7 separate regions of the Homo sapiens genome follow, and regions 1, 2, 3, 4, 5 and 7 are each linked to region 6. The links are contacts of gene promoters, found by promoter capture Hi-C in blood cells and fetal thymus (Javierre and others, 2016). All regions are on one chromosome and are shown on one strand. Each heading gives the region's core, a stretch centred on a gene start or on the middle of the fragment in contact. The rest is flanking DNA. Distances are from core to core; before and after follow the strand shown.

Region 1 (4,112 bases), core at 1,357-3,856, 490 kb after region 6:
ACTATTGGTTTTTGTACCCTTTAAAATTTGTTAATATCTTCAAAAATAAAGAAAAGCTAAGAACCATTTCAGATTAAATAGGGCTAAACAGACCTAGGAACTAAGTGCAATGTGTGATTCTAAGTCAGAGAAAAAAATTCCATCAAATATATTATTTGGAAAATCTGTGAAACTTTAATATGGGCAGCATATTAGATAGTCAAATTATAATAAGATTAAATATTCTAATTTAATCATCATGCTGCCATTTTGAGGTGTATATTCTTGTTCTTGAGAGTTACATGCTGAAGTGTTTCAATATGAGGTAAAAGGATTTAATAGCTGTAAAATTCTTTTAACATTGTAAAAAGCATTTAACAATTAACATTTTACCATACACAGTCTTTCTCTGTGTGTGAGTGTGTGTGTGTATCTATAGATAGATATAAATAGATACAGATCTATTCCATATATCTCCAAATGAATATACATAGTGAGAGAGAGAAAGAATGTGGCAAATGGTAGCTTAGATTCACCAACTATATAAACGTTCATTGTCCTGTTTTTGTAAGTTTTCCATGGGTTTGATATTTTTCAACATTTGAAAAAATATTCATAATCTGATTATTTTATTTTCCCCACCGCTGCCACCCTGGTCAAAATTATTATAACCTTTCATTGAGGTCACTGAAATAGCTCTTATTGTATCCTCCTGCTTTTACCCTTTCCTCCTACATCATATTTCTAATATGGCAGCCAGAGTAATCCTTTAGCCACATCACTCCTGTGCCAAAAAGAGTAGCTCTAGCTTCCTATTTCCCTCAGGAAAGCAAAGACTTACAGTGACAAAGAAAACCCAAGTTATCTGTTTCTTTTATTACCACCTTGGCCTCATTTCCTCCTAATAATTATTATCTCTCTGATCCAAGCACACAGACGTCTCTGCTACTCCTTGAACACAATAAGCATTCTTCTTCCTTAGGGCATTTGCTGTAGTTTTTCCCTCTGCCTTAAATGTTTTACCCCAAGAAAACAGCTTGGCTAACTCCCTCACATCCTTCAAGTTAGATATAATTTCTTAATGAAGTCTATCCTGATTATTCTATATAGCTCTTTAATATTGTGACATTCATCCCATCTCTCACAGATTTCTGATTCTCTTAATCTGTTCTACTCTTTCATTATGCCAAAGCACATTTTATCTTCACCTTAATGAATATAATTTCATGCCACTGCACTTCAGCCTGGGCGACAGAGCAAGACTCTGTCTCAAAAAAAAAAAAAAAAAAGAATTTCCATGCAAATGGAGACTGTAAGAGAGCAAGAATAGCTGTACTTACATCAGATAAAATAAACTTTAAGTCAAAAACTCTAAAAAGAGACAATGAAAGTCATTATATAATAATAAAAGTTCAATTCAGCAAGAGGATATAACAATTGTAAATACAAAAGCATCCAATATTGGAACACCTAAATATATAAAGCGAATATTAATAGATCTAAAGGGAGAACAAGACTGCAATACAATGATATTAGGGGGATTTGCTATCCATTTTCAGCAATGGACAGGTCATCCAGACAGAAAATCAACAAAGAAACTTCAGATTTAAACTGCACTGTAGACCAAATGGACCTAGCAGACATTTACAGAACATTCCATCCAACAGCTGCAGAATACACATTCTTCTCAACTGTACATAAAATATTTAACAGAATAGATAATATGTTAGGCCACAAAACAAGCCTTGACAAATTTTAGATTGAAATCATATCAATTGTCTCTTCTGACCACAATGATATAAAACTAAAAATCAATAACAGAAGGAACTTCAGAAACTTTATACATTCATAGAGAGTAAATATGCTCCTGAAAAACCAATGAGTCAATGAAGAAATTAAAAGACATTTAAATATCCCTTTTGGACAAATAGAAATGGAAACACAATGCACCAAAACTTATGGGATACAGCAAAAGCAGTTCTCAGAGAAAAGTTTATAGCTATAAACACCTACATTCAAAAAGAAGAAAGGTTTCAAATAAAGAATCCAACATTATACCTCAAGGAACTGGAAATACAAGAACAAACTAAATCTAAAATTAGGAGAAGGAAGTAATAAAGGTCATAATTTAGGTGAGATGAGGTGGCTCACGCCTGTAATCCCAGCACTTTGGGAGGCTGAGGTATATGGATGACTTGAGCACAGGAGTTCAAGACCAGCCTGGGCAACATGGTGAAACACCATCTCTTCCAAAAATGAAAAAAAAAAATAGCCAGGCGTGGTGGCAGGTGCCTGTGGTTTCAGCTGCTCAAGAGGCTGAGGTGGGAGGAACTCTTGAGCCTGGGTAGTAGACGTTGCAGTGAGCCAACATCACACCACTGCATTCCAGCCTGGGTGACAGAGTGAGGCCTCGTCTAAAAAATATCAGCATATAAATAAATGAAATAGAGGCTTGAAAAAAATACAAAAGAGCAACAAAATTAAGAGTTGGTGTTTTGAGAAAAAATAAAACCAGCCAACAGTTAGCTAAACTACCTAAGGAAAATAGAGAGAAGACAAACAAAACAATAATGAAAAAGGAGACATTATAACTGATACCACAGAAATAAAAAGGATCATAAGACATTATTATACAATTTTACACCAACAAATGGAATAACCTAGAAGAAACAGATAAATTCCTGGACACATACAACCTACTAAGATTGAATTATGAAGTTATAAAAAAATTTCAAGAGACCAATAATGAGTAAGGACATCGAATCAGTAATAAAAAGTCTCCCATCAAAGAAAAGCCCAATACCTGGTAGTTTCACTACTGAATTCTACCAACATTTAAAGAAGAATAAAAACCGGGCGCGGCGGCTCATGCCTGTAATCCCAGCACTTTGGGAGTCCAAGGCGGGTGGATCACGAGGTCAGGAAATCGAGACCATCCTGGCTAACACGGTGAGATCCCGTCTCTACTAAAAATACAAAAAATTAGCCGGGCGTGATGGCGGGCGCCTGTAGTCCCCGCTACTCGGGAGGCTGAGGCAGGAGAACGGCGTGAACCTGGGAGGCTGAGCTTGCAGTGAGCCGAGATCGCACCACTGCACTCCAGCCTGGGAGATAGTGCAAGACTCTGTCCCAAAAAAAAAAAAAAAAAAAAAGAAGAAGAATACCAATTATTCTCAAAATATTTCAAAATACTAAAGAGGAGAGAATACATTCAAACTCATTCTGCGAGGCCAGCATTACTCCGATATCAAACCTGAAAAAAAGCCCCCAATTACTCCAGGGGAAGGAGCAAGTTGAACTGGAAAGGAGCAACCTGCCCTCACCACATGCCTCTGGAATCTGGGCAGGAGGAGACCCCTCAACCACCATGGACACTTGAGTTGGCAGGGAGAGCTGCTTAGAGAAGTGGTAGGGGAAGCACTCCAGCTGGTGCAGAGCCCAGAGGGTTTGTTGTGGTAATGTCTGTAGTGAAGCATAATCAGGGATGCCCATCCCCCTAGGCTTGATTTGCTCCCATAAGAGACTTTAGCCCTAGGGGAACTGTTGGACATGAGCTCTCAGGGCAGTCTTGCCCACCAAATGAGGCCAGTCTGACGTGAGCACCCCTTTGCCTGCTGACCTCTCGCAGGGCCCCAGCCTGGCTGCACCTGCTTGCAATGCAGCCTCGAGTGCCCTCGGGGGGCTGCATCATAGCTCCTGCGCTGGCAGACTGCACCAGCCCACCCACTCCCTCCCCTCACTCCAGGCCCACAACCACCCCTATATTGCTGGAGTATATGTGCATGGGTGGATTTTACCTTCCCTGTCCTACCAGCATGTGTGTGCCCATGAACCCTCTGCTGCCACTGCTGCTGGGGTAAGTGCAGTCCACTCCACCACCTCCCCCATCATACTTCCACTGTAGTCAGAGTGCAGCCCAGCCACCACCAGCACCCTGCCCCAGCACCAACATTGTCACCAGAGTGAAACTAGGCAGAGAAGAGTGGACCCTCCACTGCCCTAAGTGACCACCTCCACCTACATGAAAACACACAGAAGGTGCACACAGTCCTGCACCTGCCAGCACCTTGCCCCCATGCTAACACCACCACCAGCAAACCACACACGCAGTCAGTCACCAGCAGGGACCCCAA
Region 2 (3,886 bases), core at 425-2,924, 510 kb after region 6:
TGGGCAACATGGTGAAACTTTGTCTCTACTGATACAAAAATTAGCCGGGAGTGGTGGTGTGCACCTGTAATCCCACGAAACTGAGGCATGAGAATCACTTGAACCTGGGAGACAGAGGTTGCAGTGAGCTGAGATCGCACCACTGTACTCCAGCCTGGGCAGCAGAGTGAGACTCTGTCTCAAAAAAAAAAAAAAAGAGAGAGAGAGAGAAAGAAAGAAATATATTCAGAGGAATCCTATGAAGAAATAGAAAGTAAAACATCTAGTATTTCATCATTAATAGGTAATCATAGAGAAGAATAAAAAGAAGAATAAGGAAGGATATGAGGAGAATTGTTACTAAAGGAAATCTATGTTGTATTTTACTAATTGTTCATTTTGGGGCTTTTTTATTTTTATTTTTTTGTAGAGACGAGGTCTCACTATGTCACCCAAGATGGTCTCAAACTTCTGGCCTCAAGTGATCCTCCTACCTCGGCCTCCCAAAATGCTGGGATTATAGGTGTGAGCCACTGCACCTGGCCTCCTGTTCATTTGGATTTTCACTTCTCTGTTTTATTCTTCGTGCCTTCATCTTACTTTAATATTTTCTAAAATTCTATTTTGAGTTAATACTATGTTTTTTAGTGCATCTCTTTGTATAACATGTTAGCGGTTGCTCTGTCCACAACTTATCAAAGTCTATTCATTTTTTTCCGTCTAATTTCTCTCTGTTGTTTAGGTTGGATAATTTTTATTATTCTATCTTCTAGTTCACTTGTTATTTTTTCTGCCTCCTCCATTATGCTGCTGAACCCACCCACCCCATCCACTGAGGTTTTTATTTCAGTTATTATATTTTTCAGTTCTAAAATTTCCATTTAGTTCTTCTTTTATCATCTATTTCTTTGCTTATGCATTCTATTTTTCATTTATTCCAAGAATGTTTATAATTGCTTATTGAAGCATTTTTACAATGGCTAATTTAAAATTTCTGTCAGATAATTCTAATATCTCTGTCATCACAATGTTGGCATCTGTTGATTGTCATTTTTTCATTCTGTTTGAGATCTTCTGGTATGATAAGTAACTTTTCATTAAAACCTGGATATGTTCATATTATATTCCGCTACTCTGGATCCTATTTAAACCTTCTGTTTTAGTGGGATTTCTCTGATACCATTTAGGCAGAAGGGGGAACAGAGAAAGAAGGAGATGTCACCTAATTACTGCCAGGTGCAGGCAGAAGTCCAGGTTCCCCACAGAGCCTCCATTGCCACCTGAAGAAGGGAGCTCATTGTTACTGCTGGGTAAGCATGGAAGTTCTGGCTCCCCTGACACCACAGTGAGGATGGCCACATTACCACTGGGTAGAGGTCTAAGTCCAGTCTTCTCATATAATCCCCCCTGCTGGGAAGGGAAGTATTAACAAAAGATCATGAGATTTGAGGAAGAAGAAAAAAGAGAGTTTTATTTCCTATAAATGGTTACAATCTGCAGGTTGGGAAATGAAACATCCAGCCAAAATGAAAAGCATCTGCTTCAGAGACAAAAGGGAGAAGCTGGGACTTATGCCCAACAAGATGAGCTATATGTACATATTCAGTAGCTTATAGGAGAATCTATGAATATTTGAGAAAACCCTAATGCATGCAAAGAGAATAAACATATATGTTACATATGTTCCATGTTCATTTTGGGGTGGGGATTTAATAGTAAAGTGAAGTGGCACGTGGCTGTTTATATATAACAAGGTGAAACAGAACACAAAGGCATCTTGTGCACAGCCTCTGTGGACTAGGTGCAATCAGTCTGTGGTCGGTGGTCAGTATAACAATGGAATGTTTAATAAGGCTGGTCAGTAGTCATGGTGAAACCACGATAAAAGAGGGGAGGTCAGCCATGACATCAAGAGGTCTCTTGAGGTTGAGGGAGAAATCTTCCAGACAGTTTTTTAGGAACTCGTTTCTGTTTAATTGTAGGAAGGAAAGTTTTGAGGCAGTTAACAAGGTAGGGGAGTGTTGAGGTGTGACTGACCTCTTGCCTTGCCAAAGCCATAGAATGCAGTTTTCAAAGTTTCTGGGGTCTCTTTTGCAACAAGAAGTCCATTCTGTTTCACCTAGGGGCTTAGGGACTTTAGTTTTATTTCACACTTTCCAGCTTTAGGCTGAAATCTGCCATAGGCAGCATTGATGGCTAAATTTTCTAACATGTCCCATGTCGTTCCCAGGATGGTGTGGATACCTGCCCCAGGTCTATCTAGTCTGTCAGTGGGACTCATGTGGCTAGGAGACTTACAACCAGTTGAATATTTTAGGCCAGGCAAGAAGGAGGCAGACAGCTATTAAGACCCTTTGAACCTTTGAGACTAGAAAAACAGTAACAACAGAAAAGTTGAGAAGGTAAGTTTATGTTTATGTTGTCTGTCATTTCTATGCATTGTGCTACCATAACTTTGGTTTTAGTGACAGACTTGAAGTAGTTGGTTATAGATCTTATAAGTACTTTGACTATCAAAAATAGGAACAAGATAGTGATATGATAATGACAAGGGTTTGTAAGATGGATTGGAAGTAATTTCTAATACTGCAATGAGTCAGCTAAAAACGTTATTAAGGGGATCTGTGGTTTGTACCTCCTGTAACCAGGCAGCCTGTTGGGTGATCTTACCTACATGGGTTGTTAAATCTCCTATAATGTTGATATAAGTGCAACAAGTGGTGTGGGCTATCATGCAAATTCCCCCTTGTTTAGCAATGAGAAAACCTGGTGCAATTTGATTGTCTAAAACCACTTGAGCGAGAGAATTTAAGGACTTCTACTGTGTCATAATACTTATTGCAGCATTTTCAGCAATTTGTCCTATGGTGGCCGGCATTTTTTTTTATCGTATCTCTGTTAGTGTATACTCCGTAGCTGAGAAAAATTACACCCCAAAAACTATGCTACCACATATCCTGATATCCACTTGGTAGCTCTCTTTTAGCTTACCGGAAAGCAAGATTTTCTTTATGATTGAGATGGATGGAAAAGAGGGCAACGTAATGACCTAGAAGGCAAAGTCCTTCAACTTGCCAGCTGTTTATGCATCTGTGTGCCTCTTCTTGAACTGGGGGATCTGACTCAATTCTATATAGGAAAGTGTGTCCTCAAGGGGCACAAGTTATACCTCCAAGGGTATGCCAATTTATACGTTCATTTATGAACAAGATATCTATTATGTGAGTGAACCACGAACTGGTTTTGTTGCAAGCCTTCTAGAAGCCTGCAGAGGCATGATATCTAACAAAGAGGAGCTGTTGTCAGTGTTTGATATTTTTTCTTTGGGCATTCAGTGGTTATGTACAGTAGCAAGGGTGGGAGTCCCAGAATCTAAGGAGAAAGCTACATAGACATAAAAATCTTAATCTTTTTAAAACTCAGTTTTCTGGTTTGGTGCAGTGGCTCATACCTGTAATTCCAGCACTTTGGGAGGCTGAGGTGGGAGAATTGCTTGAGCCCAAGAGTTTGAGACCAGCCTGGGCAATATACTGAGACCTAATCTCTACAAAAACCTTTTCAAAAGAATAGTAAAATTACCTTTTACTCAAAAGGGTAAGGGTTAAGGTGTGGGTTTGGTAACAGAAGTGGTCAATAAAACTAAAATTGTGAGGAGTGAAACAGAGGAGTCCATTTTAGTTATAAAAAAATTAAACCAAGAGAGAAATCATAAATTCCATACAAATTGCTGAGGGTCACTATCTAGAGTCTGGGGGTATTCTTTAAGGTAATGGAGTATTTGATTAACAAGGAGCATGGTAACTATGTTTTCTAAAGTGAGGATTATAGGCTCTGGGAAAGGGATTTTGGACTTGGAGGTGGATGAGAAATTTTAGAAGTATCTAAAAATGGAATACAAGGGTAAGCA
Region 3 (4,249 bases), core at 1,567-4,066, 330 kb before region 6:
TACCAGTTTGGAATCAAGACCATGTTGGAGACAGAAGAAGGAATCCTACTGCTGGTCAGAGCCATGGATCCTGCTGTTCCCAACATGATGATTGATGCAGCTAAGCTGCTTTCTGCTCTTTGTATTCTACCGCAGCCAGAGGACATGTATGTGACTGGAATAATTTTTCTTCTCCATTTTCAATTTTATCATTTTCTCTTAGTTCAGAGGACAATTGAGTTGGTTGGGTGTCCTCTCGGTCATAAATACTAGGTAAGATTGTGTTTCTTCCCAGAAGTGAACACTAAGCATCTTAAAATTTAAGAACAATTCCTAAGTGATGGGTGCTATCCTGAATGTTCCACTGGTCATCAGAGGTATAGCAAAATGTCTCCTATATCTCCATTAATATCTGTATTGTCTAGGATGAGGGTTTCTTTTTACTATTCTTTTTTTTTTTAATTCAGAAGTGGCACAATGTTATTTTTAAAACTCAAACGATATAGAAGTATATAAAGTAAAATTTAACTGCCTCATCCCTTTGCCAAATCCTATTCTGCAAAGAGAATGACTGTTAATGGCATGGTATAGTCTCATAGAACGTTTCCTAAGCATAGACAAACATATTGCGTTCCCTTGATTCTAGACATCTGCCACCGCAAAAGATAGTATCTTAAGAGCTGAGGAATGACACTTATGCCTATAAAACTAACTGCATATATAGGATAGATTTTTATTATTGAAGAGGGATTTGGTTTAACCAAAGCTAAATCATTCTTTTCAACCTGTTTCTTTTTAATAGTAGATCTTGGACATTTCTTCTATGTCGGTACTTACAGATCTACCTTATTATCTTTAGTAGCTATTTAGTATTCCATATACATGTATGTATGGCCTATAATTTATTTAACAATTCCCCTGTTGCTGGACTTACAGATTTTTTTTTTTTCCTTTTTTTTTTTTGAGACGGAGGCTCGCTCTGTTCCCCAGGCTGGAGTGCAGTGGCGCGATCTCGGCCCACTGCAAACTCCTCCTCCCAGGTTCAAGCGATTCTCCTTCCTCAGCCTCCCGAGTAGCTGGGACTACAGGAGTCCGCCACCACGCCTGGCTAATTTTTGTATTTTTAGTAGAGATGGGGTTTCTCCCTATTGGCCAGGCTGGTCTCGAACTCCTGACCTTGTGATCCGCCCGCCTCGGCCTCCCAAAGTGCTAGGATTACAAGCGTGAGCCACTGCGCCCAGCCAACTTACAGATATTTTTTAAAGCAGATTTCACTATCTGTTCTAGGTGATCATTTTTACAAATGATACTGCAGTGAACATCCTTGTGCATATCTTCTTTCACATTTATGCCCATATGTTGGATACATTTCTAGAAGTAGACTATATGTTACATGCATGAGAAATTGATTAGTACTGTTAAATGCCCCTCCAAAAGTTGTATCAATTTATACTTCATTGAATAGGGGACTTGATTTGGTATTTATGGACAGGAGCCTAGGGATGGATTGTAGGGAATGCATTTCCCTGAAGAGATGGTCCTTAGCTTTCAGCAGTTTCTGGAAACTGAGTGGTGAGAATAATAATGTGAGAAATCCGGAACACTGATAATGTCCTGTTTCCTAATCGGTCTGTGCCCCTGTGTAATTTACTCATTATACGTGTCCGTGTCACAGTACCTGGAAAGTTCTCTCCGTTTCCTTTCTCTTGGGCAGGAATGAAAGGGTTTTGGAGGCAATGACAGAAAGAGCTGAGATGGATGAAGTGGAACGTTTCCAGCCGCTGCTGGATGGATTAAAAAGTGGAACCACTATTGCACTGAAGGCATGTATATCCCCTGAAACTGGGCCCAAGAATAGAATTCAAGATGGACAGACTTAAATTCATTTGACCTTTTAATAAAATACATGGAGTGCCTCCCAACTATATATTTTACATTTCAGAATCTGTTATGAAGGGAAAATGATTAACCTTCTTTCTAAGAAGGTAAAGAATGAACTGTTTTCCTCATTATGAGATGGAAAAAGGCATGATATCTATTTACAATCTAGGAAAACCAAGACCTACAATAACATATACTCTCAAATCCTTGAAACCATTTAGAGTTTAGGCTCTCCGGATCTGTACTCAAACCAGGTCTCATTGCTATAGTAGAAAAGTCATCTTTAGAGTTTTTGTATTGTATCTTTCAGGTTGTATTGGGGACCTAAGAATGCATGTAAAGAAAATGGATTCTTGATCTCCAGGAGTTAGCATTGACATAGCTGCTGAATTTTCTTATTTTAGGTTGGATGCCTACAGCTGATCAATGCTCTCATCACACCAGCGGAGGAACTTGACTTCCGAGTTCACATCAGAAGTGAACTGATGCGTTTGGGGCTACATCAGGTGTTGCAGGTAAGATATTACACTTCATTAGAAAGGCTAGACTGGTTCCTTCTTGCTCTACAGCCCCAATAATCCCGGGGATAATTCTGGTTTTCAATTAAAAACCAGGTTGAAAAGCTTAGGTTTCTAACCACAGAGGATACTTTTGGGTTCCCTGACTTCTACTTTTGTTGTTGACAGGACCTTCGAGAGATTGAAAATGAAGATATGAGAGTGCAACTAAATGTGTTTGATGAACAAGGGGAAGAGGATTCCTATGACCTGAAGGGACGGCTGGATGACATTCGCATGGAGATGGAATATCCTTTTGCTGACTAGGTTCAAGGCAGATGAGACATTCATTGTATTTAGTTCCCTGATCCCTGTGTGGAATGGTTTGGGAGATGATGACTCAGAACAGAGCATCAGGCTTATGTGTCTTCTCATTAAATAAGGCAGGTGTATTTTTATTGCGCTGGCTTTACTTAGCTTATCATAGATCAGGGAAGTCAGTAAAGGTGATCTGAGGGTTGTTGAGCATGGAAGCCATCAAAATCAGTGTAAACTTCCTAGAATGTGATAGCTTAGCTTACTAAGATGTAGAACTGGCTTTTAGAGATGTTTGGACTGACAGAGGGAGTAATTTAGTTACCTGTTAATATTTTCAGTAAGTGACTTTGAGGCAGTTACCTCTTATTTTCTGTCTACTGCCTGATCTTCAAGCCAAGTACTTACTAGGAATCCTCTGTGTGTATAGTACCACCCAATTCACTGGTCCCTTAAAGGACGTTTTAGAAAGCTTAAAGTTTCTGGTGATGTTTACAGGAAGAACAGCCAGTAGAATGGAAGTGGTGTCTTGCTACTTTTCCCTAGCTTTTTCAAGAGTTAAATAAGCCACCTGTCAAACATAATTTCTGCATATTTGCTTTCCTTAGCCTATTTCCCTTTTCCACTGACTTTAATGAAGTCTTTCAGATTCTCTTAAACACAGTGAAGGATTCAAAGGCAGAGCCACACTTCCTTTCCATCCTGCAGCACTTACTCTTGGTCCGAAATGACTATGAGGCCAGGTAAGATGCTGTGCTTATGAGAAGTTTTGAATTTGAGCCTAAGTGGAGAGAGTGAATTCCTTAAATTCAAAGATTGTTCTGTAAAAGGAAAATGTAAAGACAAAGACCCAAGATTAGGGTTCATTAGTCACCGATATAAAGGAAGTTGTCTTATTTCTTTAATCCAACTCAAAGGCATCCCTATGGCAGAGGTCAGAGTGTATAAGGTGAAATGCCGTTCTGTTTTTGGAGGGGAGTAGGTAAATAGGATGAAGATGTTAGCAAACAGAAGTGGCAATTTAAAATTCTTTCTAGTTTCCTGGAAGTATAGATTTAGCAATAGCACTATCCATCACAGGAAGGATCAAACGCAAATTTTTAGATGGGAAAGTATTGGCACTAGGAGCGGATGGCAAGAAGTTTTGATTATTTGAAGTAGATAGGGTAGGGTAGCTGATGTGGAAAAAGGAGTTTTCTTAGCATGGCAGCAATACTTGTGTTAACTTTACAAAAGTTTTTCCAGGTCTCTCAGTTGTCAGAGCAATTACGTTTTCTTGGTCCTGAATACTTCTGAAAATTATATTTTGATTTTCCTTTGATGACCCTGTTTTTATTCTCTTGTAGACCTCAGTACTATAAGTTGATTGAAGAATGTATTTCCCAGATAGTTCTGCACAAGAACGGGGCTGATCCTGACTTCAAGTGCCGGCACCTCCAGATTGAGATTGAGGGATTAATTGGTAAGCATACTCTTCTATCTGGCTCCTCCAAGTATTGCTTCTTCCTTTCATTTTGCATCTTGTTTCAGTGAAAATGTCAGAGAAGATACCTTTCCAGTCCCCAGATAGTTCTATT
Region 4 (3,707 bases), core at 976-3,475, 270 kb before region 6:
GTGCCTGCATCAGAATTTTGGTGGGGAATTCCCTTTTAAGCCTCTTCCTGTGGAACTATACTAGAATCCCAGATGCTTCCTGTCCACAGGTAGCCAGACATCAGTGGCTTCCCTCTGCTGGGGAAGCCCCATTCTTCACTTCTTTCCAAGTAGAAAATCAGAACTCACAGGTGGAGGAAGGAGGAATTTTGTTGGAAACTAACCTTCCAGCAGAGGACCTGAATTAGTCAAAGTACTCTCTCCCATGCAAGAGGGAATAGGAGGAGACTTATACTAGGAGATACTAAATTGGAAAGTAGGTGAAATGACAATTACATATATTTTAAGTGGCTCTAGCCTATAAGCTTATCTTTCTAGGCTCTGGGTCCACTAAATACACTTGAATATATCTGGGAGAATCTCAAGGGAGACATTTGTAGTTATTCTGGTAACTCTTTAGACCCTGGTGCATTCACATCATGTAAAGTGATGTGATGCGGTCTCACATTAAACAGGAGGATAGCCATCAGAGTAGATTACAAAGAACACAGGGCTAGGTAGGGATCAAAAGACCTAAAGTCACATCTAGTTCTGATGCTGTCTGTGTTATCCTAAGCAAGTCACTTAATGTTTCTGGGACTCAGTTCCTCAGGTATAAAATGAGAGTTGGACTAGAATGAATGGTCTGCAGGGTCCCTTCCAGCTCTAATATTTTTTTTGTGCAGTGACAACAGGATTAAGAGGAGAGAGAGGCTGGACTTAGATGGCCCCATTCTCAAAATACAAAGGCTCCACTGGCTATAGGTTTCTCTATGCAGCTACTGAATTTGGCTGTTCCACCCCTTGCCTGGCTGTCTCTGACTATTCCTCTTGGCTGATTGCTTTGAGCTAAAAAAACAGAGGCACTGTGGAACATATCTGCCTCATAGCCCTCCTTTTTTCCAGAGAGGCAGCTGTCCCTATTCAAAGACACTAGCTTTTTCCCTAGAATTTAAAGGAATGTTAAATTCTTCCGGTCTCTGGAGACCTGGGGGAGTGACCAGTATACAAAGACTCATTGAGGAGTTGGAAGAGGAGAGTTACTATCAGGCTTGGTTCATTAAAAGCAACATGTAAACTCCTGTGATCCGCAGGGTGTGGGAGAACAATGGTTGGAGTGTCAAGGGGAAGAATCCATGTGATTGTATTACAGCTGCTATTTCAGGCCCATGATTGAGTCAGCTTGTGGTTTTAATGACTCAACTTTATCTCCATGTCTGAATTGTGGCCTCTTGTATACAAGTCATTTGCTCACTGGGATAAAAGCCAAGGGAAGAAAGAAATTCAACTCTTCCTTTCCTTCCCTCTACCATTTCCCAGCTTCCCTATAAGCTCCATCCATCTAACAGAACCATAGAGTTGGAAAGACTCTAAAGACTTCCAGTGATTAGTATCTAACCTTCTCATAGGGAAAGGGATTAAAACCAGATAAGGTGACTAACACGGTGAAACTCTGTCTCTACCAAAAATACAAAAAATTAGCCGGGCGTGGTGGCAGGCACCTGTAGTCCCAGCTACTCAGGAGGCTGAGGCAGGAGAATGGCATGAACCCAGGAGGCGGAGCTTGCAGTGAGCCGAGATTGCGCCACTGCACTTCAGCCTGGGTGACAGAATGAGACTCCATCTCAAAAAAATAAAAATAAAAAACAGATAAAGTCTTGCCCAGGTCTACATGGCTAATGACAGAGCACTGTAGCCCACTTTTGTGACTCCAAGTCCAGGCCTGTTTCCCCTCAGCCTGCGTGATTGAACAGGAGACAGCAGTGAACCCACAGTATGGGCCGGAAATATTCTTTCATACCTTCCAGCAAGGAGAGTCGGACATAATGACATTGCTTCAGGAAGGTGCTCTCATGACCACCTGTGTTAGTCTATTTTGTATTATTATAAAGAAATACTGGAGACTGGGTAATTTATAAAGAAAAGGGGTTTATTTGGCTGACAGTTCTGCAGACTGTAGAGAAAGCATGGCGCCAGCATCTGCTGTTGAGGCCTCAGGAAGCTTCCAATCAAGGGGGGAGAAGGTGTATCACAAGGCGGAAGTGGGAGCTAGAGAGATGCCAGGCTCTTTTAAACAACCAGTGCTTGTATGAGCTCATTACTGTGGGGAGGGCACCAAGCCACTCATAAGGGATCCACCCCATGACCCAAGTGCCTCCCACTAGGCCCCACCTCCAACATTGTAGTCCACATTTCAGCATGAGGTTTGGAGGGGTCATACATCCAAACCATATCACCTCCTATCTAGAGAAGGTTGCTAAGAATATTTCCTGTACCACTGCTTATTCTCCCCCCTACTTTTGTAAATAGGACAAGAAACATAATTAGCAGAGTTTGAGACAAGAATGAGTTATTTAGTGTGATGATGATTGCCCCATCTGTCCTAGTTTCCTCTTCCCTAAGGAAGCTTAATGTATTAACAAGAGCACTTCCTCTTTAGTAATAGTTCCTAGCCTACGTTTTATAAAGGTCTTTTTTCAAATCACTAACCTTTTTAAAACTTGCGTTATATGGTTGATTTTGCTGGTGTTTTTATCCTAGCCCACCCCTAACTTCTAGGAATCTGTCCTCAGAGAGCATTCACCAGTATCTCAACATTGTTCCCTTTTCCCACACAGCCTGTGGGACTGTTCTCTTGTAGTCAAAATATTTATCTGGTTCTATGGCTACTTTTCAATAGTCTAATAACAAGTGAGTAAGTTGGGGGAAGCATGGGGAGGTCAGTTTTTCTTGACTGTTCAACCTGCTGAGCATAATGGTGAGTGAGTGGAAAGCTGGGAGACCTGTTCCAACAAGAGCTTTCTCATCCCCTGACCTTAGGCCAAATCACACCCTCCCTGGTGTATAGGCTTTCAAGGCTTAAAAGGGAAATTTTGATCTTCTCCCTACCTACTCTCTGCTCCTGGTTCTTATGAAGTTTGTAATACATCAGAAGCTTCTTGAGTCCAGAAAAGTCTAGAAACACCACTTGGTTAGGTACAACTGGTATCTTCTTATTTTGGAGGAAGAAACCACAGAAAGCAGCAGCTAAAGACCTACCACATGGGACCTCTGCCTTCTCCTGTGTTGCCCAGGACAAGTGGCCCAGTGTTCTTTTCCCAAGGTCTGGAGTCAGATGTTATTTCAACATATATATACCACTAGAGTTACACACACACACACACATGCACAGAGTCGCAGTGTCTTCTCAACTGTTGGAGACTGAATTCAAAGAAATAATAAAATGATAGGAAACTACTACCCTTCTGGATATGAGAAATGGGGTCTAGAGAGGGAGTACTTCAGAAGAGAGTGGAAATGTAGGAGGCCTGAGGAAGATTTTGGTGGTAAGGACAGTATGAGAAATGCACACATGTAGACCATCATAGTCACACTCACGTAGGCTCCTTTTCCTCACTTGTCTCAGTCACGGGGCATTAGTTTATGTTCATAATCCAATAAATGGTTTTGTGAAAATCCCACAGTCTCGGGCACATACCTATGATCTGTAACTAGATAAGTCCTGTGGCTGTCAGTCAGGGTCTTCACTATTCTTTCTCCTCTTGGTAGACAACCTCTTGTGCCCCTGGGAAGTAGAGGAGGAGGAGGAGACCTTTAAATTGGTAACCTGTGTGCATGCTGCGTGTTCCCTGCTTGATCTATGGGCAGCCTCTCCTGGGATGAAAACAGTAGCTCTGGGTCATGGCTCT
Region 5 (3,687 bases), core at 993-3,492, 400 kb after region 6:
GGCTAGACACCGCGCAGATGGCGATGATCAGGTACACGTTGACATCCACCAGCGTCACCTCGGGGCCCGTGGCACCCACTGACGCCCGCGACGATGACTTTGGCGCCTGGCCGCTCTCCACCAGCGACACCAGCACAGTGGCCGTGGCCGTCAGCGCTGGCTCCCCGTGGTCTTTCACCAGCACCAGTAGGCGCTGGCGCGGTGCGTCCGTTTCGTCCAGGGCACGCGTTGTGCTGATCTCGCCCGTGTACAGCCCCACGCGGAACGGGATGCTCGCGCTGGCCGTTTCTGGCTGCAGCTCGTATGAAAGCCACGCGTTGTAGCCCGAGTCGGCGTCCACTGCGCGCACCTTCCCCACCACTACGCCGGCGCCCACCGACCGCAGCACCATCTCGCTCACTGCGCCGTCAGTGCCCCTCATCCGAGGTGTCAGCAGCGCCGGCGCATTGTCGTTCTCGTCCAGCACGAACACCTGCAGCGTCACGTTGCTGCCCAGAGGCGGCACGCCCGCGTCGCGCGCGCTCACCTGGAACTGTAGCAGCTCCAGCTCCTCGTGGTCCAACGGCTGCAGCGCGTACACCTTGCCGCTCTCCGCGTGCACTGACACGTAGCTCGACAGCGAGCGCTCGCCCAACCGCCGCTCCACCAGCGAGTAGGACACCAGGGCGTTCTCCTGCGCGTCAGCGTCCCGCGCAGACACCGTGAAGATGTGGCAGCCCGGCGGGTTGTTCTCCTTCACGAACACCGTGTACTCGGACTGCGCGAACGCTGGTGCGTTGTCGTTCACGTCGGCCACCTCCACAGACACCCTGGCCGTGGCCCACAGTGAAGGCGAGCCCCCGTCCCGCGCGGTAACCACCAGCTCGTAGGCGGACACACTCTCGCGGTCCAGAGCTCTGTCCAGCACCAACGAGTAGTAATTCTTGTAGGTGGACACCAGCTTGAAGGGGACGTGGGGCGTCAGGGAGCAGGTAACCTGCCCGTTGGCATCTGCGTCTAGGTCGATCACACTAATCAGGGCAATAACTGTCCCCAGTTGTGCGTCCTCTTTTACAGGAACCGAGAGCGTTTTGATAGTCAACTGTGGAGCATTGTCATTTACATCCACAACTTCCACAAGAAGTGTACAATGACCAGCCAGGGGTGGGAAGCCTTTATCGACAGCCTCGACTGGGATCTTGTGTGCTCTACTTTCTTCAAAATCCATATGTCCTATCACTGTGATTGCCCCACTTAAGGGGTCCATGTGGAACTTGGATTTTATATCTGGAGAAACATCACTGGAGAAGGAGTAAATAATATCCCCATTCAAGCCTTCGTCTAAATCTGAGGCATTGGGGTGAATCACCAGCGTTCCGATAGAAACGTTTTCTGGTAATTTCACCGTATACAGGGTTCTGTCGAACACTGGGGCATTGTCATTGTTGTCCAGTACCGTGATGAGTAATTGAACGGTGCCAGTCAGCTCGGGTTTGCCTCCATCGGTGGCCGTGAGCAATAAATGAAGCTCCGGAGTTTCTTCTCTGTCTAAAAGTTTCCGTAATACAAGTCCAAGAGGTTTTACCTGCTGGTTGCTGGTTGGCACGTCCAGGAAGAAATACTCATTGGGGCTCAGTCTGTAAGTGAGCAGGGCGTTCTCCCCGATATCTGCATCGGACGCGCCCTCTAGTGGAAACCGAGAGTCAAGCGGCCTGGATTCCGCGATGAACAGATTCTTTTGTGTCGCTGGGAACACTGGAGGGTTGTCGTTAATGTCCTTCACCTCCACGTCCACATGGAAAACCTGCAGCGGCCTGTCTACGATCACCTCCAGGTGGATGCTGCACTCCGCGCTCCGCCCGCACAGCTCCTCGCGGTCGATCCGAGAATTCACAAACAAAATGCCATTCTGCAGATTTACCTCCAGAAGGTCCCCGCGGCCTTTGGAATCCAACTGGAACAGGCGCGGCACCAGCTCCGCCAGCTCCAGCCCCAGGTCCTGCGCGATGCGGCCCACGAAGGTGCCGTGTTCGGCTTCCTCCGGGACGGAGTAGTGGAGCTGGCCGCTCCCCACCACCCACATTGCGAGGATCAGAAGCGAGAGCAGTAGAGGCTGACCCTCTGGATCTCCTCGACTTGAGTATAACATTTCAAATACTCAGTCTTCTTCTAATTAGTGAAAATTGCCTCCAAATTAGAAGAAATCATCTGATTTCGTCAGTCCCATTCTGCTGTGTTCGCCATCGTTCAGCACAGAGAGAGTGAAAAAGAATTGAGCCTCTTTCCCATGGGAAAAGGGCTGTATTTGTCTGGATTCAGAGAGAACATCGCGGCAAAGAGTGACATCACGTGGCCCAAAGTGTAAGTACATATTTCATGAATAAAAATTTCACAGTTATTCTGCAAAACTTATTTCATTTTCTTAATTTTTTCTTAAGTAATGATTGTTGAAACAGAAGATCCCGTTTCTCTTGCTGGAGCCTTCTTAGCAGACTGACTGCCTCTAAAAGTTTTGTATGACCTTGATTGTGGTTTTCTTATCCCTGAGAAAACTCTCCACTTAAGTTTTAAATAACGACAGAAATGAAGTAACAATTAAAATGATTCCATTGAGCAATCACGAATTTTAAATTACAAAATTCTTTTGTTCTGGAATTCAGAATCTCCCATATGGCTCGAAATAGGATTCTAGTGTAAGAGAAATCCAGGAGTTGCAATCTCTAGTGAATATAGGAGCCCAGAAATCTACTGATGAAAAAGAAACTTAGTCATGTCTGGTAAAAGGAATCAACAAAAAGTAGCAACCAACTGAGGTAGTTTTCTTGAGTAATTCTATGAATTGAAAAGGTATAAAATATTGCAAGAAAAGCGAGAATTGACTTTAAGGTCTTGTGTTGCGTGGGGAGAAAATATATTTTTCTCTTTTGTAGCATTTATACAATCTGTTTCCAGAAATGTGTTGTTTTGATTCTTTCCAAGCTTTATAATCTATGAATAATCTCTTCTTTGTAGTCTCCAATATAGTTTGTGTAATGTTATTACAATATGTTTTAATTTCATTATTGCTCATCCTTAGTACTCGGGGCAATTTCTGTTTTTAAAGCTATGCTTGAGATTCTTTTCCTGACTAAGTTCTACAAAGTTTTGTTGTGAGTTTTACTATCTTATTCCAACGTCCAAGTCGATTAATTAAATCTAGATTTTAGTGTATCTCAAGTCTAAAGGCAAAACCGTGAGTGTTTATTGTGCCATTAATGTTTTTGCATATTTATCTTTTATTTCGTATTTCTACTGATAACAGCCTAAGAGGTGCATTTAACAATTGCTTCTGTCCTTGATTACTGCAGGAGCTTCTGAGTTTGTCTTCCCGTTCAACCTTCTTTCAAAAGTCGTGATTTATTTTGCTCAAGGTAGTTAAATAGCTCCCAATTAATTCTAAAGAGTGGCCAAATTCCTTAATCACTCATGGCCCTTTAGTTTATTACTCAGAAATCAAGAGATCTTCTTACATTGGTTTTCCTGCTTTCATTCTCTGCAGACTGTGTGTTTTAACCAAAGTGGACTTTTCTACTTGTCATATTGATGCTTTCTGTGTCTTCAACTTTCCTTATGTTTTCTCTTTCCAAGAAATGTCTATCATTCTCAATATTCTCCCGGGGGGAACTTACTTATTTTAAAACCACTGAAACACACCATGCCCCTTCAAGT
Region 6 (4,258 bases), core at 691-3,190:
CCAGGTAGCCCGGCTCGGCCGCCCGGGGCACCAGCTCGGTGCAGGGCGCGGAGCCGTTCTGCAGCGGGTACAGCACGAAGGGCGAGTTGTCGTTGGCGTCCAGCACCAGCACTCGCACCAGCGCCTCGCTGCTCAGCGCCGGGAAGCCGCGGTCTGTGGCGCCCACGCGGAACTCGAAAGCCTGCAGGGCCTCGTAGTCCAGCGACTGGAGAGCGAACAGGTGGCCGTTGTCCGTGTTAATGGAGACCAGGGAGGTGAGGGGCAGGTGCGGGTCCCGGGGCGGCAGCAGCGAGTAGGTGACCTGGGCGTTGGTGCCCGAGTCTCTGTCTGTGGCGCTGACACTGCCGATGTGCAGGGCGGGGCTGTTGTTCTCGCGGACGAACAGGGTGTAGGAGGTTTGGGTGAAGGCGGGGGCGTTGTCATTGACGTCCGACACCAGCACGGTTATGCTCTGCTCGGTTTTCAGCCTTGGAGTCCCCAAGTCTGTGATGGTGATGGTGATGTTGTACTCGGCTCTGGTCTCTCTGTCCAGCGCCCCTTCTGTTACCAGCCTGTAGAAATTCTCAACAGAAGGTTTTAGCTTAAAAGGAACATCATCCTGAATTGAGCAAATCATTTTTCCATTTTCCCCAGAGTCTCGGTCTCTAATCCTAAACAGGGCCACTTCTGTCTCTGGAGAATTCTCGGGAATAGGGCTGGTAAGTGATGAAATACTTAGTTCCGGGAAGTTATCGTTAACATCCAGCACCTTAACAGAGACAGAGCATTTTCCAGAAAGTCCCCCGCCATCAGATGCCTCTATATCTAGATCATACGAAGACATTGTCTCAAAATCTAGTTTTTTAATTAGTCGAATTTCTCCTGAAAGGCTGCTTAGCTCAAAAGGTTTGTCTATCTCCTGAGAGCTGTAATAAAGGGAGTATGATATCTCTCCATTTGTCCCAGTGTCTAAATCCCTAGCAGAGACCTTGACAACTAGGGAGCCTACTGGGCTGTTCTCTGGGACCTGCACCTCGTAGAGCGCCTGCACAAACTCCGGGGCATTGTCATTGGCGTCCAAGACCAAGATGAGGATCTGGACGGTGCCAGATCGGGGTGGAGAGCCACCGTCCACCGCTGTCAAGGTTAATCTGAGCTCGGCCTGCTCCTCGCGATCCAGTTCTGTGTCCAGCACCAGCTCTGGGTATTTCCTGCCATCCCCTCGGGTGCGAGTGGAAACATGGAAATGAGAATTGGGAGAAATATTGTAGTTTTGAACATTATTGCTGCCCACGTCCAAGTCCCGAGCTTTTTTCAGAGGAAACACAGTCCCAAGGGAGCTAGTTTCTGGGATTTTCAGGGTCATTTCTCTTTCAGGAAACTCAGGAGAATGATCGTTTATGTCTGTCACTAGTAGTTCAGCTCGAAATACTTCCAAAGGTTTTTTCAGTAACACTTGGAAATGCATTATACAGGGCTCAGTAGGGCCACACAGCTTCTCCCGGTCCAGCTTCTCATTTAATATCAACTGCCCGGTCTGCAGATCAAGCTGCAAGCCTTGTTCGTTATCCTCAGAAACTACCCGGGCTCCCCGCTCGGCTAGCTCCCCCACTCCCAGCCCTAGGTCATTGGCCAGGTTGGCTACAAAAGAACCTCTCTCTGTTTCCTCCATCACAGAATAGCGACGGGGTTCCCAGCCTGCCAGAGTCACTTCCAGTAAAAGAAGGAGAATCAGGACTTGCCTTTGTTCGGGAAAGCGCTCCCCTGCAGGCTCCATCTTTACTTCTGTACACGCCCCTTTCAAGGAACCGGAGTCAGAGCTACTTCAGGGAGCGATGGGACAGAGGCAGTGATCGATCTGTGCGTTGATAACCTGTTCGGAAATGTAGGAGAATAGCATTCTCCGGAGACACTGGTCCGTGCTCTGCTAACAGGCTTTCCTCTTAGGCTGAAAGAGGTCTGAAGTAGCTAGTAGCATTTCATGGGCTTTTTCCTTTTCCTTTTTTTGAAGCCTTAGCCTGCAGCGCCACCATGCGTTGTCTTTGCTTCGAAACGAATTGCTACAATTGATCTATTCTCTATTCTATTAGGAGTTTGGAAATTGGGAGGAAATGATGTAATCACAATATCACGCAATGGTAATTATTAATTTCTTCATTTAAAGGAGTATTATTGGTCTCTATGTGCCAAATTATGAAATACATCAGTAAACAACCCAGACATGGTCCCCACCCTCCAGAGCCTGTAGTCTGGGTGTAGTGTTCTGAGGGAAATTGAGAAGTGAAAGAAGACATAATAGTGATCAGTCATCTTGTAATAATAATAACATAAAGCCACGTGATTTCTTAAAAATTTATCAGCAAAACAAAATGAATTCTTTAATTTCTTTCAAATTCTAGACAGCCTATGTACCAGAATTGTGCTCCCATTGGTTGGATTACATCAAGAAAAAGCTACACGTTAATTCCAGTGTGGTATCCTTTCTACATAAAGTCAGAGAGTTATGATTTTATGAAAATTTTAAACTGTGGAAAAATACATATGAAGGCACTTCCTATATCTCTTACTTTGCTTTTTCTTTTTTTTCTTTTCATTTTTCCTTTTTTTTTTTTTGAGATGGGGTCTTGCTCTGTTGTCCAGGAGGGAGTGCAGTGGCACAATCACTGCTCATTGCAGCCTTGACTACCCAGGCTCAAGCAATCCCCCCACCTCAGCAACTGTAGCTGGGACCACAGTTGCGCATCACCATGCCTGGCTAATGTTTTAATTATTTGTAAAGATGAGGTCTTGCTATGTTGCCCGGGCTGGTCTCAAATTTCCGAGCTCAAGCAATCCTCCTGCCTCAGCCTCCCAAAGTGCTGGGGTTATAGGCATGAGCTGCTGTACCCAGCCCTGCCTTGTCTCTCTCGTATTTATTATCTGACGTAGTATAGATGTACTTATTTAGTTGTTTCCTTTCTGTTTCAACCTCACATGTTAGAACTTCATTTTGTTCACTGCTGCATCCCCAATATCTAAAATAATCCCTGGCACATGGTACGTGCTCAATAAATATTTGTTAAATGGATCCATTAATAAATCACAATTAATTTAAACATTCTGACAGATAGGTTCTCCTCCTACTGTAGAAATTCCCTCTTCTTCTGGGATTCAAGTTCATTATATAAGATGGATAAACAAAGACAACATGTTCATAAGGTAGCTATTTCCTATGCCCTTTAAATAGTAATGTGAAATAACTCAGAATGACCTAAAATGTCATTTCATTAAGTGGCAAAACAACTTAGCTACCCATAAGCAAGGGATATATTATATGACAGAAAGAAAGAACATAACAAGATTATGATGACCCTAAAGATAAGGATTATGTCTCTTTTAGACACACATTTTTCATTGTCAAGGTTTTTTTTTTACAGTAATGTTATTATGACACTTACGATATTCAAAACTCTTATATAATAAAATGTTCTAAGAATTTCTATTAAACACTTCAAAGACTGTACCATTGGAAAGATCCTTCAGTTTTTCTCAAAATTGTATATTCTGACAAAAGCTAGTGCATGTCCCTTATAGACTACTAATATTTTACAACCTCCTTGATCCCAAATGTTGTCATACTAATATGAAAAGCCACAATAAAAACCCAATAGGAAGAAAGGTCTAACTTACCAACAATGCAGGAATATCTAAACATGCTTTTGACAACAAAAACCTCACTTAGATCTCTTAATTAGAGGGAAATTTATTAAAGAGCACAAATTTGTCTCCAGCAACCTAAGGGAAAAAGACTTGGGAGGGACTGGAAAATCTAAAACAGGAAAATCTATGACAAGGTCATTCTTTTGGTACCTTATTTTTTCTTGTCTCTCAATAGATTGATGTTCTGTATTTCTTTGCAAGTGTTTAGCCAAATATGACACCACTTTCTGCTTATGTTCCTAACAAAGAGACTATGTTGTATCTGGTTCTTAAAGCCATTTTTTTTTAAACAGAGAGAATCAGATTAGGCCAGCTAGGATCATCTTATTTTTGTGTTTGAAATCACAGAGGGAGGTGGGTCATATAAAATAAATGTGGCTGCAACATTACACTTCAGCCAAAGACAGGGAGAATTTTCCAGAAAAAGATCAGGTGGGCTAGATAGACGCTACAAAAGGGAGCTATGATTTTAAAATCTTGAGATAATCTAATAATCACTAAAGATGCTCGTATGGCCGGGCAAGGTGGCTCACACCTGTAATGCCACACTTTGGGAGGCAGAGGCGAGTGTATCACCTGA
Region 7 (4,068 bases), core at 442-2,941, 470 kb after region 6:
GCTGCCTGCTGTCTAAGCCATCTGAGCTTCCAGGGGGAGAGATGGCAGCCATCACTGCGGCTGTCAGCTGCCTAAGACAACTGAGCTCCCTGAGGTGGGGGCGGCCCTCATCACTGTGGTTGCTAGCTGCCTAAGAAAACTGAGCTCCCTGCGGGAGGGAAGGCAAACATTACTCCAGCTGCTAGCTAAGTACACTGCTACCTGACACTGAACTGGGGGTAGCGGGGAGGGTGGCAGCCATCACTATAGCTCTAGACCACATTTTTCCCCTCCTGGAGCCGGAGAGACAGGACAGCTTGGTTCCAAGAGGTAATCCCCACAGTGCAGTATACAGGCTGTGGCTGAAAAATGCTGAAAACTCAAAAGGCCAGAGTGCCTCTTCTCCAAATGATCACAACACTTCTCCAGCAAGTGCACAGAACTGGACAGAGGTACCATCCTGATACCAAAACCTGGCAGAGATACAACAAAAAAGGAAAACTTCAGGCCAGTATCCCTGATGAACACTGATGCAAAAATCCTCAATAAAATACTGTCAAACTGAATCCAGCAGCACATCAAAAAGTTTATCCACCATGATCAAGTCTGCTTCATCCCTGGGATGCAAGGCTGGTTCAACATACGCAAATTAATAAACATAATTCATCACATAAACGGAACTAATGACAAAAACCACAAGATTATCTCAAAAGATGCCGAAAAAGCCTTTGATAAAATTCAACATCCTTTCATGTTAAAAACAATCAATAAACTAGGTATTGATGGAACATATCTCAAAATAGTAAGAGCCATTTACGACAAACCCATAGCCAATATCATACAGAATGGGCAAAACCCAGAAGCACTTCCCTTGAAAAGCAGCACAAGACAAAGATGCCCTCTCTCACCACTCCTATTCAACATAGTATTGGAAGTTCTGGCCAGGGCAATCAGGCAAGAGAAAGAAATAACGGGTATTCAAATAGGAAAAGAGGAAGTCAAATTGCCTCTGTTTGCAGACAACATGATCCTATATCTAGAAAAACCCATTGTCTCAGCCCAAAAGCTCCTTAAGCTGATAAGCAACTTCAGCAAAGTCTCAGGACACAAAATCAATGTGCAAAAATCACAAGCATTCCTGTACACCAACAATAGACAAGCAGAGAGCCAAATCATGAATGAACTCCCATTCACAATTGCTACAAAGAGAATAAAATACCTAGGAATACAGCTAACAAAAGATGTGAAGGACCTCGTCAAGGAGAACTACAAACCACTGCTCAAGGAAATAAGATAGGACACAACAAATGGAAAAACATTCCATCCTCATGAATAGGAATAATCAATATCATGAAAATGGCCACACCGCCCAAAGTAATTTATAGAGTCAATGTTATTTCCATCAAACTACCATTGACATTCTTCACAGAATTAGAAAAAATGACTTTAAAATTCGTATGGAACAAAAAAAGAGCCCATATAGCCAAGACAATTCTAAGCAAAAAGAACAAAGCTGGAGGCATCACGCTACCTGACTTCAAACTATACTACAAGGCTACAGTAACCAAAACAGCATGGTACTGGTACCAAAACAGACACATAGACCAATGGAACAGAATAGAGATCTCAGAAATAAGACCACACATTTACAACCATCTGACCTTTAACAAACTTGACAAAAACAAGCAATTGGAAAAGAATTCCCTACTTAATTAATAGTGCTGGGAAAACTGGCTGGTCATATGCAGAAAATTGAAACTGGACCCCTTCCTTACACCTTATATAAAAATTAACTCAATATGGATTAAAGACTTAAATATAAAACCCAAAACCATAAAAACCCTAGAAGAAAATATAAGCAACACCATTCAGGACATAGGCATGAGCAAAGATTTTATGATGAAATCACCAAAAGCAATTGCAACAGAAGCAAAAATTGATAAATGAGGTCTAGTTAAACTAAATACCTTCTGCACAGCAAAAGAAACTATCATCAGAGTGAACAGGCAACCTATAAAATGGGAGAAAATTTTTGCAATCTACCCATCTGACAAAGGTCTAATATCCAGAATTTACAAGGAACTTAAACAAATTTACAAGGAAAAAATACAAACAACCCCATCAAAAAGTGGGCAAAGGACATGAACAGACACTTCTCAAAAGAAGACATTTATGCAGCCAACAAACATGTGAAAAAAAGCTCAACATCACTGATCACTAGAGAAATGCAAATCAAAACCACAGTGATATACCATCTCACACCAGTCAGAATGGTGATTATTAAAAAGTCAAGAAACAATAGATGCTGGTGAGGTTGTGGAGAAATAGGAATGTTTTTATGTTGTTGGTGAGAATGTAAATTAATTCAACCATTTTGGAAAACAGTGTGGCAATTCCTCAAAGATCTAGAACCAGAAATACCATTTGACCCAGCAATCCCATTACTGAGTATATACTCAAAGGAATGTAAATCATTCTATTATAAGGATACAAGCACACGTATGTTTATTGCAGCACTATTCACAATAGCAAAGACATGGAATCAACCCAAATGCCCATCAATGATAGACTGGATAAAGGAAATGTAGTACATATACACCATGGAATACTATGCAGCCATAAAAAAGACTGAGGTCATGTCCCTTGCAGGGACATGGATGAAGCTGGAGGCCATCATCCTCAGCAAACTAACACAGGAACAGAAAACCAAACACCACTTGTTCTCACTCATAAGTGGGAGCTGAACAATGAGAACACATGGGCACAGGGAGGGGAACAACACATACCTGGGCCTGTCATGGGAGTGGGGGAGGAAGAGCATCAGGAAAAATAGCTAATGCATGTGGGGCTTAATACCTAGGTGATAGGTGCAGCAAACCACCATGGCACACATTTTCCTATATAACAAACCTGCACATTCTGCACATGTATCGTGGAGCTTAAAATAAAACAAAATAAAATAAATTTTAAAAGTGTCTTGAACTTGATGGAGATTTTGTTGAGAAATAAAATTGATAATTTTTATTTTGATCTTTTAATTCTATTTTCCATGAACTTTTGGAAGTCCCCACATAGGAAAGTAATCCATCTAAGTAGAAGGAATATTTCTCAATGTATGCTATGAAGACAGTATCACCCTGATGCCAAAACCAAAGACAATACAAAAATAAAAAGAAAACACAGAGTGATAACTTTTATAAATTTAGATTTCAACAATTTTTAAAATACTAGCAAATAAAATTTTACAATGAGTAAAAAGAATTATACACCATGATCAAGTGGGCTTTTTTCATATATTCAATATTTGAAAATCTGTCATTATAATCTACCATATTAAAGGGCTAAAGAAGAAAAGACATATGTTCATAATGATTATGTCAATAAATGCAGAAAGACATTCAACCAAACTTCAATATCAATTCACGGTTTTTAAAATTCTCAGAAAAATAGAAATAGAGGAGAACTTTCTCAACCCAGTAAGAAGCATCTATAAAAAATCTATAGACAGATTTATATTTAATTGTGAAGAACTGAATGCTTTTATCCCAAGATCAAGAAAAAAGCAAAAATATCTATTCTCACCACTCGTATTCAACATAGCACTGGAAGTTCTACACAATGCAATAAGGCAAGAAAAGTAAATAAGAGGAATACAAACGAGAAAGAAATAAAATTGTTTTTATTCATGTTTGACACAACTGTGTACTTTAAAATCCCAAGGAATGGACAAAAAATAAACCACTTCTAGAATAAATGAATTCAGCAAAGTCACTAAAAAAAAGATGAACATAGAAAAGTAAATTGTATACCCATATACTAACAATGAACAAATGGATACCAAAATTTAAAATATAATACCATTTCCATTAACTCAAAAAGGATACTTAGGTGTAAATGTAAAAAAACCATGTACAGGACTTGTGTTCTAAAAACTACAATAACTACACAACACTGATGAAAGATTTTTAAAATCTAAATAAATGGAGAGACATACACTGTGCTCATGTGTTGGAAGACTCAAAAAGTCATGGAGATACATCGATTTTTCCTGAATTGATATATAATTTTACACAGTTTCTACCAAAATGC

What was found. The method cuts DNA at HindIII sites, captures the fragments that hold promoters and counts their contacts. A CHiCAGO score of 5 or more calls a contact.
Region 1: a contact is called between a fragment that was not itself captured here and the fragment with the promoter of PCDHB15 in region 6, in 3 of 17 cell types (endothelial precursors, M1 macrophages and M0 macrophages). The highest score is 6.9, in endothelial precursors.
Region 2: a fragment that was not itself captured here is called in contact with the fragment with the promoter of PCDHB15 in region 6 in 1 of 17 cell types (M1 macrophages); the score reaches 6.9 in M1 macrophages.
Region 3: a contact is called between a fragment that was not itself captured here and the fragment with the promoter of PCDHB15 in region 6, in 1 of 17 cell types (fetal thymus). The highest score is 5.2, in fetal thymus.
Region 4: a contact is called between a fragment that was not itself captured here and the fragment with the promoter of PCDHB15 in region 6, in 2 of 17 cell types (naive CD8 T cells and total B cells). The highest score is 5.4, in naive CD8 T cells.
Region 5: the fragment with the promoter of PCDHA9 here is called in contact with the fragment with the promoter of PCDHB15 in region 6 in 5 of 17 cell types (neutrophils, M2 macrophages, M0 macrophages and 2 more); the score reaches 11.1 in neutrophils.
Region 7: a contact is called between a fragment that was not itself captured here and the fragment with the promoter of PCDHB15 in region 6, in 3 of 17 cell types (M2 macrophages, M1 macrophages and M0 macrophages). The highest score is 8.5, in M2 macrophages.

Annotation. Positions count from the first base shown.
Region 1 is chr5:140,753,299-140,757,410 of GRCh38, reverse strand. The region is part of intron 3 of LOC105378198 (a long non-coding RNA gene); the gene reads right to left. Among named protein-coding and RNA genes, the nearest start is that of PCDHA1, 31 kb to the left of the region's middle. The HindIII fragment of the contact is 5,694 bases long and covers 1-4,112 here.
Region 2 is chr5:140,734,741-140,738,626 of GRCh38, reverse strand. The region is part of intron 3 of LOC105378198 (a long non-coding RNA gene); the gene reads right to left. Among named protein-coding and RNA genes, the nearest start is that of ZMAT2, 36 kb to the right of the region's middle. The HindIII fragment of the contact is 5,793 bases long and covers 1-3,886 here.
Region 3 is chr5:141,576,641-141,580,889 of GRCh38, reverse strand. It overlaps DIAPH1 (diaphanous related formin 1), which reads left to right. Exons shown (of 28, transcript NM_005219.5): 8 at 7-146; 9 at 1,694-1,802; 10 at 2,265-2,375; 11 at 2,547-2,665; 12 at 3,299-3,415; 13 at 4,019-4,134. Among named protein-coding and RNA genes, the nearest start is that of DIAPH1-AS1, 20 kb to the right of the region's middle. The HindIII fragment of the contact is 661 bases long and covers 2,486-3,146 here.
Region 4 is chr5:141,518,857-141,522,563 of GRCh38, reverse strand. The region is part of intron 27 of DIAPH1 (diaphanous related formin 1); the gene reads left to right. It overlaps LOC124901091 (a long non-coding RNA gene), which reads right to left. Exons shown (of 2, transcript XR_007058971.1): 2 at 1,928-3,583. Among named protein-coding and RNA genes, the nearest start is that of PCDHGC5, 32 kb to the right of the region's middle. RefSeq lists an enhancer at 1,048-1,342. The HindIII fragment of the contact is 405 bases long and covers 2,023-2,427 here.
Region 5 is chr5:140,846,937-140,850,623 of GRCh38, reverse strand. It overlaps PCDHA9 (protocadherin alpha 9), which reads right to left and starts at 2,242. Exons shown (of 4, transcript NM_031857.2): 1 at 1-2,242. The coding sequence starts at 2,128. The region is part of intron 1 of PCDHA1 (protocadherin alpha 1); the gene reads right to left. All of the region lies in intron 1 of PCDHA2 (protocadherin alpha 2), which reads right to left. The region is part of intron 1 of PCDHA3 (protocadherin alpha 3); the gene reads right to left. It also overlaps PCDHA4, PCDHA5, PCDHA6, PCDHA7, PCDHA8 and PCDHA@. The HindIII fragment of the contact is 21,410 bases long and covers 1-2,960 here.
Region 6 is chr5:141,243,077-141,247,334 of GRCh38, reverse strand. PCDHB15 (protocadherin beta 15) reads right to left here and starts at 1,940. Exons shown (of 1, transcript NM_018935.4): 1 at 1-1,940. The coding sequence starts at 1,756. It also overlaps PCDHB@ and the pseudogene PCDHB19P. The HindIII fragment of the contact is 5,789 bases long and covers 1-4,258 here.
Region 7 is chr5:140,772,285-140,776,352 of GRCh38, reverse strand. No RefSeq gene overlaps it. Among named protein-coding and RNA genes, the nearest start is that of PCDHA1, 12 kb to the left of the region's middle. The HindIII fragment of the contact is 5,471 bases long and covers 1-4,068 here.